7 separate regions of the Homo sapiens genome follow, and regions 2, 3, 4, 5, 6 and 7 are each linked to region 1. Evidence: promoter capture Hi-C in 16 types of primary human blood cells and fetal thymus (Javierre and others, 2016). All regions are on one chromosome and are shown on one strand. Each heading gives the region's core, a stretch centred on a gene start or on the middle of the fragment in contact. The rest is flanking DNA. Distances are from core to core; before and after follow the strand shown.

The links. The method cuts DNA at HindIII sites, captures the fragments that hold promoters and counts their contacts. A CHiCAGO score of 5 or more calls a contact.
Region 2: the fragment with the promoter of C12orf56 here is called in contact with the fragment with the promoter of ZFC3H1 in region 1 in 5 of 17 cell types (naive CD8 T cells, activated CD4 T cells, total CD4 T cells and 2 more); the score reaches 11.8 in naive CD8 T cells.
Region 3: a contact is called between a fragment that was not itself captured here and the fragment with the promoter of ZFC3H1 in region 1, in 2 of 17 cell types (non-activated CD4 T cells and total CD4 T cells). The highest score is 12.3, in non-activated CD4 T cells.
Region 4: a fragment that was not itself captured here is called in contact with the fragment with the promoter of ZFC3H1 in region 1 in 8 of 17 cell types (activated CD4 T cells, naive CD8 T cells, non-activated CD4 T cells and 5 more); the score reaches 20.9 in activated CD4 T cells.
Region 5: a contact is called between a fragment that was not itself captured here and the fragment with the promoter of ZFC3H1 in region 1, in 4 of 17 cell types (activated CD4 T cells, non-activated CD4 T cells, total CD8 T cells and 1 more). The highest score is 8.9, in activated CD4 T cells.
Region 6: a fragment that was not itself captured here is called in contact with the fragment with the promoter of ZFC3H1 in region 1 in 4 of 17 cell types (total CD8 T cells, M0 macrophages, fetal thymus and 1 more); the score reaches 11.1 in total CD8 T cells.
Region 7: a fragment that was not itself captured here is called in contact with the fragment with the promoter of ZFC3H1 in region 1 in 12 of 17 cell types (activated CD4 T cells, total CD8 T cells, naive CD8 T cells and 9 more); the score reaches 20.9 in activated CD4 T cells.

The regions. Positions count from the first base shown.
Region 1 is chr12:71,662,574-71,665,273 of GRCh38, reverse strand. ZFC3H1 (zinc finger C3H1-type containing) reads left to right here and starts at 1,426. Exons shown (of 35, transcript NM_144982.5): 1 at 1,426-2,261. The coding sequence starts at 1,664. It overlaps THAP2 (THAP domain containing 2), which reads right to left and starts at 973. Exons shown (of 3, transcript NM_031435.4): 1 at 694-973. The coding sequence starts at 764. RefSeq lists enhancers at 964-1,323, 773-1,331, 1,684-1,803. The HindIII fragment of the contact is 1,665 bases long and covers 824-2,488 here.
Region 2 is chr12:64,389,369-64,392,068 of GRCh38, reverse strand. C12orf56 (chromosome 12 open reading frame 56) reads left to right here and starts at 1,311. Exons shown (of 13, transcript NM_001170633.2): 1 at 1,311-1,755. The coding sequence starts at 1,504. The HindIII fragment of the contact is 6,871 bases long and covers 1-2,700 here.
Region 3 is chr12:64,213,092-64,215,796 of GRCh38, reverse strand. It overlaps KICS2 (KICSTOR subunit 2), which reads left to right. Exons shown (of 3, transcript NM_152440.5): 2 at 1-119. Among named protein-coding and RNA genes, the nearest start is that of KICS2, 7.9 kb to the left of the region's middle. RefSeq lists a silencer at 397-594. The HindIII fragment of the contact is 6,969 bases long and covers 1-2,705 here.
Region 4 is chr12:64,459,753-64,462,452 of GRCh38, reverse strand. TBK1 (TANK binding kinase 1) reads right to left here. Exons shown (of 21, transcript NM_013254.4): 3 at 2,124-2,264. Among named protein-coding and RNA genes, the nearest start is that of TBK1, 9.0 kb to the right of the region's middle. The HindIII fragment of the contact is 1,690 bases long and covers 533-2,222 here.
Region 5 is chr12:64,438,954-64,441,653 of GRCh38, reverse strand. XPOT (exportin for tRNA) reads right to left here. Exons shown (of 25, transcript NM_007235.6): 23 at 2,339-2,410. Among named protein-coding and RNA genes, the nearest start is that of TBK1, 12 kb to the left of the region's middle. The HindIII fragment of the contact is 1,226 bases long and covers 705-1,930 here.
Region 6 is chr12:79,938,064-79,940,763 of GRCh38, reverse strand. It overlaps PPP1R12A-AS1 (PPP1R12A antisense RNA 1), which reads right to left. Exons shown (of 2, transcript NR_146535.1): 2 at 1-402. Among named protein-coding and RNA genes, the nearest start is that of PPP1R12A-AS1, 4.1 kb to the right of the region's middle. The HindIII fragment of the contact is 904 bases long and covers 906-1,809 here.
Region 7 is chr12:64,406,776-64,409,475 of GRCh38, reverse strand. The region is part of intron 1 of XPOT (exportin for tRNA); the gene reads right to left. Among named protein-coding and RNA genes, the nearest start is that of XPOT, 3.7 kb to the right of the region's middle. The HindIII fragment of the contact is 2,704 bases long and covers 62-2,700 here.

The DNA of each region.
Region 1 (2,700 bases), core at 177-2,676:
GTGGCAGGCACTTGCAGAGAAGGTAAACATTTACAGAGTACCTGTTATTTTCCAGGCATTGTTCAAAGTGCTTTCAAGAGTTCTGGTTTGACAGAACTAAAGAATTTTGATTTTTCTTCCAGCAAACAAAAGAAAACCTAGGTTCTTTTTATTACTCTATTCTAGTAAGAACAGAAAGGTTATCTTTTGCACTTTAATTAACATCGCTTAATTCCATGGCTATCAAAGATGACTCAATTCCTCCGCAGAATTACTATGTGACTATTAGAAATCTAAATGCCTCCCATGTCAATTCATCTAGTGAGAATTTCCTAATTTTAACGGGAACACAGCAGGCTTTTACGGTGATTGCTGATTGGGAAGATCTCTTTCTCCCTTACGGCGTCATTCATGTCAAGGCCCGGTCTAACAGAGGAATAAAACAGTAGAAAATTACGATATCCTCCTGTTACTTTTTTTTACTAAGGGGTAATGACCAAACAGTACTTGGATTTCTTTTAGAAAATGAGTAAAGCTTCCCCGAAAGCAGAGAACAATTGGGCAGATTTGAGAAACACAAAGGACATACGATGCTTCCCTGCTACCAGCTGGGAAAGTTATTAGAATTAGCAGAATCCTCCTGTTCCTTCCACACAAGCGATAGCCACAATAGGAACTCCAGTTTCCGTCACCCCCACTCCCTGCCCAGGTTACCTGTGGAAGCTGATGTTAATGTGCTTGTTGTAGGTAGTGGCACAGCCCGCCGCAGCGCAATTGGTCGGCATTTCCCTTTCCCACTCATTCAGCGCCCTTAGGTCTCTACTGAGGCGCTGGCTGCTAAGCTTTCTTCTGGCAGAGGCTGGACAATCGAGGCAGGCGTGCCTTAATCGTGAGAGCTTAGTCGTGAGAGCGGAGTGGGAAGAAGGGGTGTGTATGTGGGGGCGGAGGCGAAGGACGGTCAGCCTTCCCTTTCTCTTTATTAATATGGCCGACTAGAGCCCACAGAACTGGCCCTCCTGGAGCTCTAGTCGCCTTCGCTTGACTTCACCAACATGGCGGACACAACCCGTTCTTTCTCCCCGCCCCCAAGAGGGAGCGGATCTACTGCGTTTCTTTGGCAGCGGTCCTCAGAGCAATTAAAAGGAAGAGGTGTTTTCCCCTCCGATTACTATAAATTACAAGAGTTTTACAATAAAACTCTCTCAAGGCTGCAACAGCAGCTCCACCTACTTCTGCATGCACCCAACTGTACCAAGCCAGACCCTGCGGTGGGTGTGACCCTAGGACCGGAAGAGTAAACCCGAAGAAAGACGAAAGACTACAAATCCTAGTGAGTATCGAGTTGGTCTTATTATCGCGTGAACTGGGAGCCTTTGTTTCCTGCGTGTCGCAGGAAGTGACGTTTCGGGTACAGCCGCTACCAGAGTCCCTTTCTCGCGAGGCGGAAGAACCCCGATCGCTGAGGAGCAAGGGGGCGCTAGGAAAGGGAACTGGGTTGCGACGGTCCGGCGAGAGAGAGCTGGGGTGCTGGGGTGCGGGGAAGTTGGGGAGCAGAGGCCGCTTGGTGTCCGAGTAGGGTAAGACCGCACCGACCCAGTCCGTTAGGAAAGAAGGGAAACGAGGCAATTGTCGGGCGGATCCCCGGACGGAGGGCTAAGGTTGTGTGGAAGGCGCTGCTCCCCGGATGGCGACCGCAGATACTCCGGCCCCGGCCTCCAGTGGCCTCTCGCCGAAGGAAGAAGGGGAGCTTGAAGATGGGGAAATCAGTGACGACGATAATAACAGCCAGATACGGAGTCGGAGCAGCAGCAGCAGCAGCGGCGGCGGGCTGTTACCCTATCCGCGGCGAAGGCCTCCTCACTCGGCCCGGGGCGGTGGATCTGGCGGAGGCGGTGGCTCTTCCTCGTCATCGTCCTCTTCTCAGCAGCAGCTGAGGAATTTCTCACGCTCGCGGCACGCGTCTGAGCGGGGCCACCTCAGGGGACCCAGCAGCTACCGACCCAAAGAACCGTTCCGGTCTCATCCGCCTTCTGTACGGATGCCTTCGAGCTCACTGTCCGAAAGCAGTCCCCGGCCGTCTTTCTGGGAGCGGAGCCACCTCGCCTTGGACCGTTTCCGCTTTCGAGGCAGGCCTTACCGGGGTGGGAGTCGCTGGAGTCGGGGGCGAGGAGTGGGTGAGCGAGGAGGCAAGCCGGGGTGCAGACCTCCTCTGGGAGGAGGAGCAGGATCCGGGTTCAGCAGCAGTCAGAGCTGGCGAGAGCCCTCTCCACCTCGGAAGAGCTGTATCCTTAACGTGGCGGTCGGCGCTGGGTGTGTCACTAAAGTTCCCTTTAGCGTCATTACTAGGTCTGTGAGACGAGTGTAACTTTGAATCATCAGAACCGCTTATTTCTCCCTGTGTCAGTATACTTTAAGTTGTTCTTTGGTAATTCCCCATGTGTCACACTATAGCGTTATTCTTAAGACTGCTTCATTGGGTATATTAACGTGCTGTGGATTGGGTTAAGCTTATGAAATCTAAGACAGTTAAGTCTGATTTGTAATAATACCTTAGAAGCCCAAGTTTCATTAGCATTTGTATTTTTGCTGGTACAGAAACTTTGTGTTTTATATGAAGTTGACTTGGATTGTTAGAGAAAAAATATTCATAAACAGTTTAAGTAATATTGTTGCTTTATCATATTGCAGTTTGACGTTGAAAATTGTAAAGTTTTAATCTGC
Region 2 (2,700 bases), core at 62-2,561, 7.3 Mb after region 1:
AAAAGTTTAGCCAGACCAAAACATTTCTCTTTCCCTTTGTACTAGTGTAGTCTACAATATCTGTTTATGGATTGTAATATATTTATACCTTCTTTCCACAAGGGATTTGAAGTTGCTTATAACATACAGTATACAATAATAAAATATGTAGAAAGGGAGAATATAAAGAATATATCAAATTTGATTCAGGGTTGCTGGCAGCCACAGCAATGAACGATATGGTTTCATTATCAGGTTTTTGGGTCAATGGGGAGGGGAAGAGAATAACTTTTCTAGGATTCGAAATAAAAAATGGAACTTCTGACTTAGAGCATTTCTGTTGTGCCCTTCTCATTTCTCTAACCTAATTAGTAAGTTATTCTTGGCCTGTAAAAACTAAGGAATACTTACTCCTCTGCAGCCTCAGGGTATGTAATCCGCATTCTTCAGTCTATCAGCTTCAACTTTTCAAGATGCCAGCATCACCCATTCATTCTTCCTGCATAGATTGTCCTGGGCATTGGAAACAAAACCATATGCCTTAGGTTGGTTTGGGTGTGCTCACATCAATTCATGTGAAGAATCCCTTTCTCAAAGGCTGGGCGAGGTGACTTAACGCCTGTAATCCCAGCACTTTGGGAGGCCGAGGCGGGCGGATTACCTGAGGTCGGGAGTTGGAGATCAGCTTGACCAACATGGAGAAACCCCGTTTTTACTAAAATATACAAAATTAGCTGGGCGTGGTGGCGCATGCCTGTAATTCCAGCTACTCAGGAGGCTGAGGTAGGAGAATCGCTTGAACCCGGGAGGGGGAGGTTGCGGTGAGCCGAGATGGCGCCATTGCACTCCAGCCTGGGCAACAAGAGCAAAGCTGCGTCTCAAAAAAAAAAAGAGAAAAGAAAAAAAAAATCCCTTTCTCACTGGTTGGAGAAAGAAGACCTATGTTTACACTCCGACAATATCAGAAAGCTGTGCCAGGCCATGTTATAACCAAAAGCTAAATCTGTGTGATTGGGTTTAATAGGTTTCTAGGGTTGTTAAAAATAAATCGGTAAATTAAACTCTTTCAAGTTTCTAACAGGAAACCAGATTGAAGCTGGCTTCCATTACCAATAAAGTTTGTATTGGATGGTGTGATCCGCAACAGAGTACGCAGTGGTGGGGACTGGCATTAGGGGTGGGCGGGAGAGACCCTAAAAATCCACCGCCCTTCGGCCGCAGGGGACTTCACGGTGATGAGCCCGAGGTGCCCATCAACTCGGGCCTGAAGGACCAGCGTCTTGCCCCGCCCATCGCCGTCTGAGGTTAGGACAAAGATCGAGAGGCTGGACAGGGCTGGGGAGGGCGCTCCAGGGAAGCCGACCTAGCGTCGATTCCTGCAGTTGCGGCCCGGGTCCCCGCGCCTGGAGAGGAGGCGACGCGTGGCCGGCGGCTTTGTGGCGCGCGGGTTCCAGCGCGGGGGCGGGGAGAGGGCGAGCTGAGGGCCTCGAGTCCCAGCACTCCGCCACGCTGCGGGCGCCGGGCATGGCCAGCCCCTTGCCGTCCGGCTTCCCCGCGCGCAGGAACAGCCGCCTGGATGTGTTCCTGCGGCGGCATCTGCCGCCCGAGGTCTACGACGCGGTCCGCGCCTACGAGCCATGCATCGTGGTGTCCAACTCTGAGAACCACATCCTCAAGTATGTGGTGCTAAGCGACCGGCTCGTCTACCTAACCGAGAACCCGCCCAAGTCCATCCGGCGGGTAGTGGCTCTGCGGGACGTCGTGGCCATTGACCTGGTGAGCGGCGCGGGTGGGCAGGCGGGCTCGGGAGCGCAGTGAGAACTCCCGGCTGGGGCCCCCAAACCCAGCCCTCCTGCGCGGGGAGGGCTGCCCCATCCTGCCCTCGACTCCCCTCCTCTTATTTGAGAACGAGGAACACAGGGAAGCTGTGGATTGCTGTGAGCACTCCTAATACAAACACGTCTCCCATTCTCCTCGTGTCTGCCTGTTCACCCATTCTCCCGCCTCCCCTACCCCACGTAGGGCTACAGGTTTGAGAACCGAGCTCCCTATCAAAAATACCTTTTAAAGTCATTCCTTTGTTAACAAAGCACCTAGTCAGTGCCAGGCACTGTGCTAGACTCGGAGGATGCAAAAACGAAAGAGGGCCCCTACCTAGAAGCAGTCGCTGGAGGGCTAGAAAGCCAACACCCGTGCAAATAAATGCTGTGTGTTAAGTGCTGTTATATCTCATTTACTTTTTTGCCCCCGATGCTTAGAGCATGTTAGATGCTCAATAAGAATAAATGCATAAGGCCGGGTGCCGTGGATCACGCCTATAATCCTTACACTTTGGGAGGCCAAGGTGGATAGATCACCGGGGGTCAGGGGTTCGAGACCAGGCTGGCCAACATGGTGAAACGCCGTCTCCACCAAAAGTACAAAAATTACCCAGGCGTGGTCGTGTGCACCTGTAATCCCAACTACTTGGGAGGCTGAGGCACAAGAATCGCTTGAACCTGGGAGGCGGAGGTTGCCGTGAGCCGAGATCGCCCCACCTGCACTCCAGCCTGAGCTACAGAATGAGTGAGACACCGTTCCCCTCCACCCCCTCCCCAGCAAAAGAATAAATGCATGAATAAGCAGATGCGTTAATGAGATGCGCACAGGACGCTTGGCAATCTCAGGCGGCTCACTTGATCCAAACTGGGCGCAGGGCCTGCTGGGAAACGTCTTGGAAGG
Region 3 (2,705 bases), core at 1-2,500, 7.4 Mb after region 1:
GCTCGGATGGAGATAGCAGACTTCTATGAGAAGATGTACACCCTCAGCACACAGAAGTTCATCAATGCTGAAGAGCTCGTTGGCCTTTTGGATGCCATCATGAAAAAATACAGCTCCAGGTCAGTGTGGGGAGGAGGGAGGGAGAAAGCGTGGCTGTCCTATCAATCCCACACAAGCTCAGAGTTTTTCTCCACACTCTTATGAAAATCTGTGATGAAATAACTGTGAAATAAATAACTGGATTACATTTTATACATATTCATTAATCAACAGGTATACATTAGGCACCTTCATTGGTCTTATTAACACCACACGGCTGCTAAGCAATAGCAAAAGACCGAGAATGAAGTAATCGTAAAACTTGTATTATAACCGATTTTGCTGCTTAGGAAAGAGTTCACACAACAAGAGAATTGTATATAAAATAATAGGAATTTCTTTTTTCTGGAAACCAAATTGTAACATAGTAAAATAATATGAAAATACGTATTATTGTATTTTCTGTTGCCCAGGCTGGAGTGCAGTAGCATGATCTCAGCTCACTGCAACCTCCACCTCCTGGGTTCAAGCAATTCTCCTGCCTCAGCCTCCTGAGTAGCTGGGATTATAGGTACACGCCACACCCAGCTAATTTTTGTATTTTTTTTTTTTTTAGTAGAGACGGGGTCTCACCATATTGGCCGGGCTGGTCTTGAACTCCTGACCTCAAGTGATCCACCCGTCTTCACCTCCCAAAGTGCTGGGATTACAGGCCTGAGCCAATGCACCTGGCTGAAAATAATGTGAATTTTTAACAAATTATTATTCAAATAAATATTGTCCCTTTTAAAGTAATCAGTGATTTATCTGCTTGTTCCTTTGAACAAGCCATTCTTTAACATGTGTTGGAAACTCCTTTGTAATTGCTTTTAGAGTTTCTGCCATACAGTTTAGATTTCATTTTAAGTATTCTTAGTGGAGGAGGGCATCCACTAAGTGCCTGTAATCTCCTGGGTTCAAGTGATTTTCCTGCCTCAGCCTCCTGCGTAGCTGAGATTACAGGCACATGCCACTATGCCTGGCTAATTTTTTTTGTATTTTTAGTAGAGATGGGGTTTCATCATGTTGGTCAGGCTGGTCTCGAACTCCTGACCTTGTGATCTCCCTGTCTTGGCCTCCCAAAGTGCTGGGATTACAGGTATGAGCCACCATGCCCAGCCGAGTTGAGCTTTTAACGGCAGGTAGGATTTCGAAAGCAACTGTAGGAAAGAAGACGGCAGGTGTTTTGAGATGAGAGGATATTTCAGAATACAAAAAGGCTTCAGGGTTTTGGTACTTGCAATTCTTTCTCTCTTATAAGTTCTTACTGTAGTTATCTTCTCATCTTTAAGTCTTGGTTCAAACAGAGAAGGCTTCTCTCACTATCCTACCAAAACTATTCTGCTTTTAGTCACTATCTTATTCTCCTGATTTATTGCCATCTGAAGTTACTGTTGTTTGTTTAGGGTGTTTTTTCTTTCCTTTTCTCAAAAACTAGAATGTGAGCTCCATCACAGCTGCTGTGCTTTTAGCACCTGGAACAGAACCTAGCACATAGTAGATGCTGAATAGATGTTTGCTGAATAAATGAGTGAATAGTTGTGTTCCAGGTTGAAAATTTGTACTTAATTTGGTAAGCAGTGGGGAACCATGAAAAGTTTTGAACCAGGAGTATCATGTTCTCATCTTAGACTAATTACTGTGGCACTGTGTGTGCAATGGGATGGTGAAGGGAGAGGTTACAGGAGAAAAGGTTAGTTTAGCAGGCTATGATGGTAGCCTAATAGGCAGAAGGAGGGCCTCATGGTTGCAAGACAGTGGGATAGGAGATGCTGACAAGAAGTCTATAAGTCTTGTCAACAGGATGGCAGGAATAATGAGAGGTTGCTGTCAAAGATGATACTTAGGTTTTGCCCCTCTAATGATAATATTGTTTACAGAATTGAAAAGACAAGAGGGACTGAAGAGGAACTGGTTTAGAAGGAAGGTAGTAAGCTAAAATTGGGGCAAGTTGAGTGTGAGTTGCTAGCAGATTTTCGAGTAAAGATTTAGCAGGCATTTGGAAATGGGGGTCTAGAGTTCAGACGAAAGGCCAGAAATAAAACAACTTGGAAGTAGACTCATACAGTTTTATGGTTTAAAAACTAAAATGTCATTGTTCTTTAATAAAACAGCAATTGATTTTTCACCTTGTAGGAAAAGGGGGGGAGGTGGAAATATTTATATATACCTATTCTGAAGGAAATTAGCATGTATTGAGCAACTACTGTGTGCCAGACACTATGCAAGACCCTCTTCTTGGTTACCTGGTTTGAAGTACAGGTATAAATAGTGCACCTTTTATAGAGTCCCAGAGAAGTGGAACACTTTGCTTAGAGTCATACAGCTTAGCTCTGTGACTTCAGAGCCCATATTCTTTTGTGTATGCATCATTGCTTGTTATTAAAAATTGAGATGTTTTTTATCTAGTCCAGATAAATAATTTCTCTTTGCTGATCATTTTGTAAGTCAATAAATTAGTTCTTCAGAAGACCTAGGAAGCATTTACTACATCCTCTTGCTAGGAATACGAGTTGTGTGCTACCTACAACCACATACATACATAGTCTTTCTGAGCATAAGATGGTTGGGTAAAAATTATTATGTTACTATTCTTTCTTTCTTTTTCTTTTCTTTTTTTTTTTTTT
Region 4 (2,700 bases), core at 128-2,627, 7.2 Mb after region 1:
TAGATACATAATGCTGTTTGCATATTACACTGTATATGTTAAGATCATACTACATATATATTTTTAATCCTGATTCTTCTCACATAACATCATATATAAGGTGTTCCAAGAAGATTAAAATTTTGGTAAATATCTCTTTTCATTACCACTTAACTATTGTGTGGTAAAAAATTAACTTTACCCAAAGAGAAGTCAGGCTTTGCCCTTGGCTACTGGACAGTGATCTCTGGCCCCTAAAATGTCCTATCTGAAAGAACAAGACTTCTGTCTTTGTTCCTCTGGGGGCTTTGGCCACTGGAGAGTCTCACAGCATGATTTAGGATGGGGGCTTAATGGAGACTAAAGGAATTACCCCAAACTTCTGGAAGGAGCTGGGGACTAAAGGTCAGCAATACAGGCAATAAATGATCCAGCCTCAGTAAAAACCCTGGACACCAAAGGCTTGGGTGAGCTTCCCTGACTGGCAATACTTCATGCATACTGTCATACATCAATGCTGAGAGAGTAATGTGTCCCTCAGGACAAAGAAGCTTCAAGATTGGAACCCTCCCACATTCCACGCTTTGTGTCTCTTCCTCTGGCTGGTTCTAATTTCTATCTTTTTGCTACAATAAAACTGTAATTATAAGTATAGCACTCTCCTCAGTTTTGTGAGTCATTTCTACATTCCAGCAAATTACCAAACCTGAGTGTCATGGGCAACCCCCACATTTGTAGCCGGCTGGGATGATGTGAGGGTAATCTTGTGGGAACTGTTCTCTCTGTGCAGTTTGCCAAACTCCTTTGCAATTGGTATCAAAAGTCTTGAGCAGACTTGGCAGTGTGGAAGGCTATGCTCTTAATCTTGAGTTTGGCTAATTCCAGGTAACTATCTGCCACACATTCTAATTTATTCAACTTATTTAACCATTCTTTATTATAAACAGGATGCCAATTAACATCTTCATGCATAAAATTATATTTCTGATTACTTCCTAAGAAATAATCACTAAAAATAAAATCACTCGGATAAAGAGTATAAACTACATTTTTTCCCAAAGATTTTATTGATTGCTCATGTTTAAAGGGATTAAAATAATTTCTATTTCCATTATTTCTAGATTACTTTTCCTAATGACATTCTTAATTCCACTATTTCCCCTTAAAAAAATCAATTCTTTTATAATTGGACTTCATATCTTAAACTGTAGGACTCTTGAAATTTTTATTCATGAAATACAAAATTTTTATTTTTTTAAAGTTCGATTTTTTCTTTTTATAATTATTTTTTCTCTTTATAATTATTAGATTTAACTTGTTACCTTTCTTTTTCTAGTAATAATACTGGTAACCATATTCAATACCCTTTTATTTCCTTCTTTCTTTTTTTTTTTGAGACAGGGTCTCACTCCATCACCCATGCTAGAGTACAGTGGCACAATATGGTTCACCATAGCCTTGACCTCTCAGGCTCAGGTGATCCTCCCACTTCAGCCTCCTGAGTAGCTGGAACTACAGGCGTACACCTCCATGCATGGCAAATTTTTGTATTTTTTACAGAGACAGGGTTTTGCCATGTTGCCCAGGCTGTTCTTGAATTCCTGAGCTCAAATGATCCTTTCTTTTTTTTTTTTTTTTTTTGAGATGGAGTCTCCCTCTGTTGCCAGGCTGGAGTGCAGTGGTGCGATCTCAGCTCACTGTGACCTCTGCCTCCTGGGTTCAAGCAATTCTCCTGTCTCAGCCTCCCAAGTAGCTGGAACTACAGGTGCGCACCACCATGCCAAGCTAATTTTTGTATTTTTAGTAGAGACGGGGTTTCACCACATTGGCCAGGCTGGTCTCAATCTCTTGACCGCATGATCTACCTGCCTCGGTCTCCCAAAGTGCTGGGATTATAGGTGTGAGCCACTGCACCCAGCCGCAGCCGGCCGCCCCCTTTTATTTCTTACACTACTGTTTCTGATTCCATTTTTATGATATTTTATTTCTATTGTTCTATATATTCAAGAATCCTTTAGGATAAAGTATTTGGTTGTACAAACCCTAATTTTCAACAGTTTTTTAAAAAATCCATTTTTTAATATTAGGTTCTATTTCTTGACTCGTAACTACAATAAATATAAGATTGAAGTTTTACTACTTACCTCCTCTTCAATAGCAAATAATTTGACAATATTTTTGTGATTGAGTTTTTTCAACACTTCAAATTCTCTCATTTGAACATCCACTGGACGAAGGAAGCTTATGTTATTAAATACTTTGATAGCAAATAAATCACCAGTTTTCTTTAAAAAAGAGAGAGAAATGTTTTATTTATTCATAATATTGTAAAAGAGATTAAAAGGTAGCATTAGAACTCGCTATTGCAACTTATTTTCTTACAGAACATCATGCATCTTTTAGGCACAGGGAATCTGTATGAGGACTTTTGACTTTTCTAAAAAGTTAAAATGAATCAATTAACTGCTCAACATTTCTTTCAAATTACACCTTTTGGAATTCAGAAATGGATATTTTCTTTCATATTATAAATAAACCTTTCATGAGGATACAGTAGGGGCAAAAATAGTCACACATCAGAAGATAAAAGCCATAATAGTATCAAAAGCAAAATCATCTTTTAAAGACGAAATAGAAAGTGAAACTCATAAGGGCTTCTCCAAGGCCTAATAATTTTAAACTAATCAAAGCAGGAGAGAGAGACTGAACACTATATTCCAC
Region 5 (2,700 bases), core at 68-2,567, 7.2 Mb after region 1:
TCCAAAAATAAAAAACAAAGTGACGTACAGATTCAAGGCAATCCGTATAAGAGTTCCAAGAGCATATTTTATAGAAATAGAAAAAACAAAACTAGAATTTACATGGAATCACAAAAGGCCCTGAATAGCCAAAACAATCCAGAGAAAGAGCAAAGCTGGATGTACCACACTTCCAGATTTCAAAATATATTTTAATATTACAGTGTGAAAACAGTATGGTACTAGCAAAAGACAGACATATATCCTAGCTACTTGGGAGGCAGAGGCAGAAGGATTCTTTGAGTCCAGGCGTTTGTAGTTGCTGTGAACTATGATGGTGCCACTGCACTTGAGTCTGGACAACAGAGTGAGACCCTCTCTCTTTTAAGACAGACATATAAACCAATGGAACAAAATAGAATTTGAAAATCAACTCCTGTATACAGTCAACTGATCTTCAACAAGGGTACTAAGAATACACAATGGGGAACAATAATCTCTCCAATAATGGTGCTGGTAAAACTGGATATCTACGTGCAAAAGAAAACGAGACCCTTATCTTACACAAAAATCAACTCAATGTATTAAAGACTTTATATGTAAGTCTCCAAACTGCAAAACTAGAAGAAAACATAGGAGAAAAGCTTCAAGATGCTGGTCTTTGAAATGATTTCATTGATATCACGAAAAGCTACATTAGTGGGGCTACATTGAATTAAGAAGCTTCTGCACCATAAAGTAAGCAATCAACAGAGCAGAAAGGCAACCTCTGGAATAGCTAAAGAATGGGAGAAAATATTTGCAAACCATTTATCTGATAAGGGGTTAATTTCTAACATATAAAAAAACTCCTCTAATTCAATAGCAAAAAACTTAATAACTTGATTAGAAAATGGGGTAAAGACTTGAATAGACTTCTCCAAATACAAATGGTTAACAGGTGTATGAAAAAACAAACATCACTAATCATAAGGGAAATGCAAATCAAAACCACAATGAGATATCACCTCACACCTGTTAGAATGGCTATTACAAAAAAATGAAAGACAGCAAGTGTTGGTGACATTGTGGAAAAACTGGAACCCTGCTACACAACTGATGGAAATGCAAAATGGTGTATAGCCACTATAGAAAATAGTAAGATGTTTCTTCAAAAAATTAAAAATAGGACTACCATATAATCCAGCAATCCCACTTCTGGGTATTTATCTAAAAGAATTGGAATCAGCATCTCAAAGACATATTAGCATTCCCATGTTAACTGTAGCACTTACAATGTGAAAATAGCCCCAATGAATCTATCAGTGGATTAATGCATAAAGAAAATGTGATATATACATACAGTGGCATGTTATTCAGCCTTAAAAAATTGCGAAATCCTGCCATATGTAACAACATGGATGAACCTAAAGGACATTGTGTGAAACAGCCAGTCACAAAAAGAGAGATAACTGCATGATTCCACTTATATTAGGTATCTAAAGTAGTCAAATTCACAGAATCAGAGAGTAGAATGGTAGTTTCTAGGAGATGGGGGCTGTGGGAAATGGGAATTGCTAATCAGTGGGTATAAAGTCTTAGTTATGCAAGATGAATATGTTCTGGAGATCCACCTATATTTTATAGGCACATCACTGTCCCTATAATTAATAATACTGTGTTGTGCACGTAAAAATTGTTAAGATGGTATATATCTCATGTAAGTGTTCTTACAATAAAATAAAAACACTATTGATGAAGAAACAAATTTTGGAATCTACATAAGAGATTGTAATTCTAGTTTTAATCAAGTTTGATACTTCATTAACTCCATGTACTACTGGACAAGAAATCTGGAAAATTATATGCCAAGAAACAATATTATACAAATGACTTCTTAAAAGTATAAGGTAACTTTCCAGACACTTTCCTTAAAATAGTTTCAGATTTACAGATTAAGCATTGATAAGCTTGGTGTACACACAATGAACTACCTGGTACAAAGCTTCAGAACTCTGCTGTGGTCCCCTTCAGCAGTCTGGAAAAGCCTATTAGGCTCCTTTAGAATGTTTTTTTAAAAAAATGCATAAAACATAATACATGGGATTACGATAGAAGCCAATTATACTGAATAATGGTTATCAAACTAAAGTATGCTAGAACAGTAAGGACTTATTAACTTGTTGGGTAACAAGGTGTAGTGATATTACTTAGTAACTCATAATTTCAAAATGGTGATAAGCATAAACAGTATTTTGAGATGCTGGCAACAACTTATGTAATATGAAAATATTTTTGATTTCTGCTAGCGACAATGTCACAGGCAATGCTGCTACTACTGTGATCTCTCGCCTACACAATGGTAAGAAATAGCTCTTACCTGAATTATTTCTGGAGCTACTTGCAAGGAGGGCAGGTATTCTTGTTGAAGATACTGAACACATTCTGGGCCCTGAAGATTAAAAGATACTTACAACTATTTTCTTGCTTGACATTAATAAGCTTAAAAAGAATCGGAACAATACATGTACACTTTAAAGGCAATATAGTATTGTGCTTAAGAACACAGACCCGAGAGCCAGACTGCCTTGGTTTGAAGCCTGGCTCTGGCACCTTCTTTAAAATTATACTTTAAGTTCTGGGTTACATGTGCAGAACATGCAGTTTTGTTACATAGGTATACATGTGCCCTGGTGGTTTGCTGCACTTGGGCAAGTTACTTAACCTCTCTAAGCCTCAGTT
Region 6 (2,700 bases), core at 108-2,607, 8.3 Mb before region 1:
TCATTGATGGCAGGTACTTCATTTGTTTCATTTGCTCCTGTGACCCCAGAACCCAGAATAATGATTCACAAAGAATAGGTGCCAATCAATACATTTTCAATGACTGACCTCGGATCCACCAAACTGCTACATTTCAGCCATGTTTGTGGCACAGCTATGTTTGGCTACTGGGAGTCCCAGGCTTATGTTCCAGCCTCCATGAAGCAGCCATTCATTTTGAGATCCTGTCACATTCTGGCTACTTCCAGAGATCTGTGAGCAAATCCCTGCTGTTCAAGAGACCAACAGACTTCTCTCTCATTCTTTTGAGCCTTGGTGTCACTTATTATTCTCAGTGAAATCCTTCTTTCCCATGGAAGCACCCAAAGATGGCTTGGGTGAACCCCTCTGCTTGGTTCCACCCTAAGTAAAAATAACATTCCATGGAGTTATGGTGAAAATTTTTGTAAAGTGAAAATAAAGGCAAATTTAGAAAACAGTGCTATTTTTATTGATTTATAATGCTATGCAAATAGAACTTAAATAAGTTTCTAGCAACCTCATATACTAATTCCAATCAGATCACTAGCCCTAAATTCTTATTAAATAGAAATTGGTGGGTGGACATTTCAAGTAGGAGGGAAAATGTTTTGAAAGCAACTTCTGCTTTCTTCCTTGCCACAAACCTGTCCTGAGGCAAGGAAGCAGAGTTGCTATCAGCTTAAATAAGGGAAGGAAAAGGCAAATACAAGAACACAAATAAAATCTCAAATTTTTTTCTCTCTCACATACATTATTCATTTAATCTTTAAGACAACCACATGAAGTTGATATTCCCACCTGTCAAAATTGAGCACGGTCAGCATGTTTTGGTTCTCATGAATACCTTGTTTTTGCACTCTGGTCTGTGAAGGAATTTTAAAGCTTTTCCTAGGATTTGATTTGAAGGACAATTGAATGGATCCCTCAACTAAATATTAGTGATCCAAGATAGAACTCATGCACCTAAACTTGCCTTCCAGATATTGATCTTGTAATTTATTCTTCTAATTTCAGTGCCATGGAGAATGACTCTTATTTCTGAAATTCCTTCAGCACACAGATATTTTCATACAAATTGGCCTTCCTGCCAATGCCTTGCCTTGACACCTTGAGTTGGGGGTGCCACTAAGGCCTATCCTATAACCTTCACTTAATTAATCGTAATTATTATTACACATACTAATTAAAGTCAGTCAGTTTCCTAAAGTGTAGGACATGTAGACTGGTGGTACATGAGGTAATGTTATAAGGTAGATGTAACATTAAAACAACAGTGAAGCACTTAGCACAATATTCTTTTTTCACTACCTTTTAATCTTTCCGATTATGCTAAACTGAAAAATCTTAGGTTGATGCTCACATGTCCAACCCTTACCAATATCCCTTTTTTAACAAATTGAGAGCACAGCTTGGGCTCAGACCCTTGACAGACAACCTAACTAATGTTTTGTTTTCATTGTATTTGCTTTAACAGTCTTCTTTATGTCAAGTGGAAACGTTTTTCACTTACCAAAGCAACATAATGTTGCTTTAAAATAAATTTGTCTTAAAAAGGTTAAAGAAAACATTAAGCAAATACTAGTATTTGCGGTTCTTGAATTTGGCAATAAAACTGATAAAGTTTGGGAAACATTAATTCATATGAAAGGGGCATGTGATGTTCTGTCACATGATACAGGTTGGGAGTCATGTGCAATGGAGGTGAGTTATCTCTTTAGCAGTATAACTGCACTTTGGATTGTTGCCAGACACTCATCTGAGTCCTAGTTTTGGGGAACAAAAGAAGCTTTATGAGCATATTAGCCAGTACTTGTACTGTGATAGGGTTAGTTTCTTGAAATGGAGTCAGATGTGGCAGAAAATTTACCCTAAAGTAAATTAGAAACTCACCTTGTAATCCAGAGGCAAGGCAAAGATTAGATGCTATGATCTAGAAATCAGGATTGATCTAGCAATGGAGTCTGAAGCAAGTTAGGGTGGTTCCATGTTGGTTCTGGTCAACTCCCTGGGTAGGACTAAATAAATTATGATGTGAATGGATTGTAAACTTTTCTTCAAGTTCTTTTTTTTTTTCTTTTTGAGACAGAGTCTTGCTCTGTCACCCAGGCTGGAATGCAGTGGCACAATCTTGGCTCACTGCAACCTCCGCCTTCTGGTTCAAGTAATTCTCATGTATTCTCGGGTTCAGCCTCCCGAGTAGCTGAGATTACAGGCACGTGCCACCACGCCCAGCTAATTTTTGTATTTTTAGTAGAGACGGGGGTTTTGCCATGTTGGCCAGGCTGGTCTCGAACTACTAACCTCAGGTGATCTGCCCACGTGGGCCTCCCAAAGCCCTGGGATTACAGGCATGAGCCACCGTGCCCAGCCTTTTCTTCAGGTTCTTAAATAAAACATTGGAAAGAAATTATTATGCAATGGAAGAGAGTTTGGCCCAGGTGTAGAATACAGGAGACAGAAACAAGGTCCTTGTTGACTGTTCTATTCTCAAGTGTATAAATGTAAATTAGTATCTCAGGTTTAAATTAGGGATAAAGAGAACATAGATATATCAAAGTATTTATTAATATCTTATGTACATTTTTAACAAAGAGATTATAATAGCAGAAACAAATCTAAGCTGTGCATGTCAGCATTTCAAATATGTTTATAATTTAAATTAAGTTGATCATAATTAGC
Region 7 (2,700 bases), core at 164-2,663, 7.3 Mb after region 1:
GCATGAGCCACCCCACCTGGCCCCTAAAAATCTTAAAGTATGCCATAAAGGTCCTCAAGCTTTCTTAGTCTTCAAGATCTTCTTAATAAGGTATAGAAAGTAATCATTTTCTACTTTAAATAGTAGAAGTACCTAATTTATGCAGTGTTTTACTTATCTCTAGTACTTAAAAATGCAATTGTGCAACTGCAGTTAAGTATAAAAATGACAAATGCAGACTATTACAGTAATTATAATAATTTGTCTACTTCCAGATACAAATATCACAAACCTTCTTTAAAACATTAGAATGGCTGACCTCAGAGTTCAATATCCTTTGGAGTGTTTACTAAGTACTATGACAGAAGTCTAATGAAAGGAACAGGATAATGAAAAACCAGTCATTTAGCTTTTGAGCAATGGACTTAGTTTTGCATTTTACAGATCTCTGCTCTTGCCAGCCAATTCTAAAAATTTCAAAAAAAAAAAAGTTTTTCAATAGTAGATACAAAAACCCACAAACCAGCCAGCTACAGTGGCTCACACCGGTAATCTGAGAACTTTGGGAGGCTGAGGTGCGCAGATCACTTAAGGTCAGGAGTTCAAGCCAGCCTGACCAATACGGTGAAACCCTGTTTCTACTAAAAAGACAAAAATCAGCCAGGCTTGGTGGCACATGCCAGTAATCCCAGCTACTCGGGTGACTGAGGCACAAGAATCGCTTGAACCCAGGAGGCAGAGGTTGTAGTGAGCCAAGATTGCGCCACTGCACTCCAGCCTGGAGAACAGAGTGAGATTCCATCTCAAAAAAAACAAAACACACAAAAAAAAATCCACAAATGACTTAACACTGACTACTCTTATTTAAGGATTTTTTTTAATCTCTGAGAGGTAATCCACTTCTTCACAATATAGGTTCCAACATTCTCAAATAATAAGCTGCAAAAGGCATCCTAGTTTTTGATAGAATGCATATTCATTTGAGCAAACATGGAACAAACTCTAAATGATGTGAAAAATGATATTATTCTCTCAAGACCTATAAGGTAGGGAGACCAAGTCTTACTACTTCCATTAAACGCTGTGGGGGGCCAGGCGTGCTGGCTCATGCCTGTAATCCCAGCACTTTGGGAGGCCGAGGCAGGTGGATCACTTGAGGTCAGGAGTTCAAGACCAGCCTGGCCAACATGGTAAAATCCCCTACTAAAAATACAAAAAAATTAGTGGAGCATGGTGGCACACACCTGTAATCCCAGCTACTTGGGAGGCTGAGGCAGGAGAATCGCTTGAACCCAGGAGGTGGAGGTTGCAGTGAGCTGGGATCACGCCACTGCACTCCAGCCTGGGTGACAGAACGAGACTCTGTCTCAAAAAAAACAAAAAAAGGCTGTGGGGCTTTTTGTTTCAATTACCGTTAACCAAAGACGCCAAAAAACTAATTGGATTGGGGGTAGGGGAGAAAAGCCTTTTGGGAATAGCAGGGGTAGGGGAGAAAGGCCTTTTGGGAATAGCAAAACCAGGCTCAGGTCCAGGTTACAGGATACCTACAATAGGCTTTTCTGTTTTCCTCTGAGCCTGCCTGAATCAAATAACTCAGGATATGGACTGAGAGCTTTGAAGACAGCTCAGCCCTTTCTCTTATGGTTCATAACGTACTTGCAGACTTCAAGGCAGTGTAACTCCCTACTGCCCTCAGATTACGATCCAAACACTTTTGAATAACTCCTCACTATTCTGCACACCAGGTCAGCAAGGCCAGTGCTAGTGAACCATATGGCAGTTCTCCAGTGGTATTCTACCTTTCATCTTTGCACACTGCTCTTTCTTCTTGTTAGTAGGTTAACCCCTGCTGTCCTTTGAAATTCAACTTAGAAGCCATCTCTTTCAAGAACACTTCTTTGACCTCTATTGTCCAACTCTCCCAAATTGGATTACATGCCCCATCCTAAGCACTGCTATGCTGTCACTGCCAGCTTACTAGTTTTCTCTCATTAATCTTTTTTTTTTTTTTTTGAGACAGTCTCACTCTGTTGCCCAGGGTGGAGTGCAGTGACATGATCTCGGCTCACTGCAGCCTCTGGCTCCTGGGTTCAAGTGATTCTTCTGCCTCAGCCTCCCAAATAGCTGAGATTACAGGGGTGAGCCACCACACCCGGCTAATTTTTGTATTTTTTAGTAGAGATGGGGTTTCACCATGTTGCCCAGGCTGGTCTCGAACCCCTAATCTCAGGTGATCTGCCAGACTCGGCCTCCCAAAGTGCTGGGATTACAGGTGTGAGCCACCCGGCCATTTCTCACAATCTTAAAGGGCAAGGACTGTCTTGACTATCCATCACTATGTCCCTAGGACATAGTAGAGCATAGGTTTTGGATTTCAAAGACCTGGGTTTGTATCCCCATCTTGTCATTTTTTAATTGGGGCCACTTGGACAACTTACAAAACCTGAGAGAACCCTTTCTATGACATGGGAAAAAGACCATATGCCTCATAAAGTTGTAAAGGCTTCAAAGAGATAAGGTATGCAGAGCATGGCTGGCACATAGTGAGCCCTCAATACGTTGTTTATAGTCAGAGGTAGGAACATGTGGAATGGAAACGACTTGGGGCATTCTTATACCAGATCAGCATTTTTAAAAGACAGAAAAACACAAAGAAAGGCACTGGTTCCCTTCGCCCCCTAAATGTTAAGAAAATCTGATGTCCATTCCCCTGAAAAATGC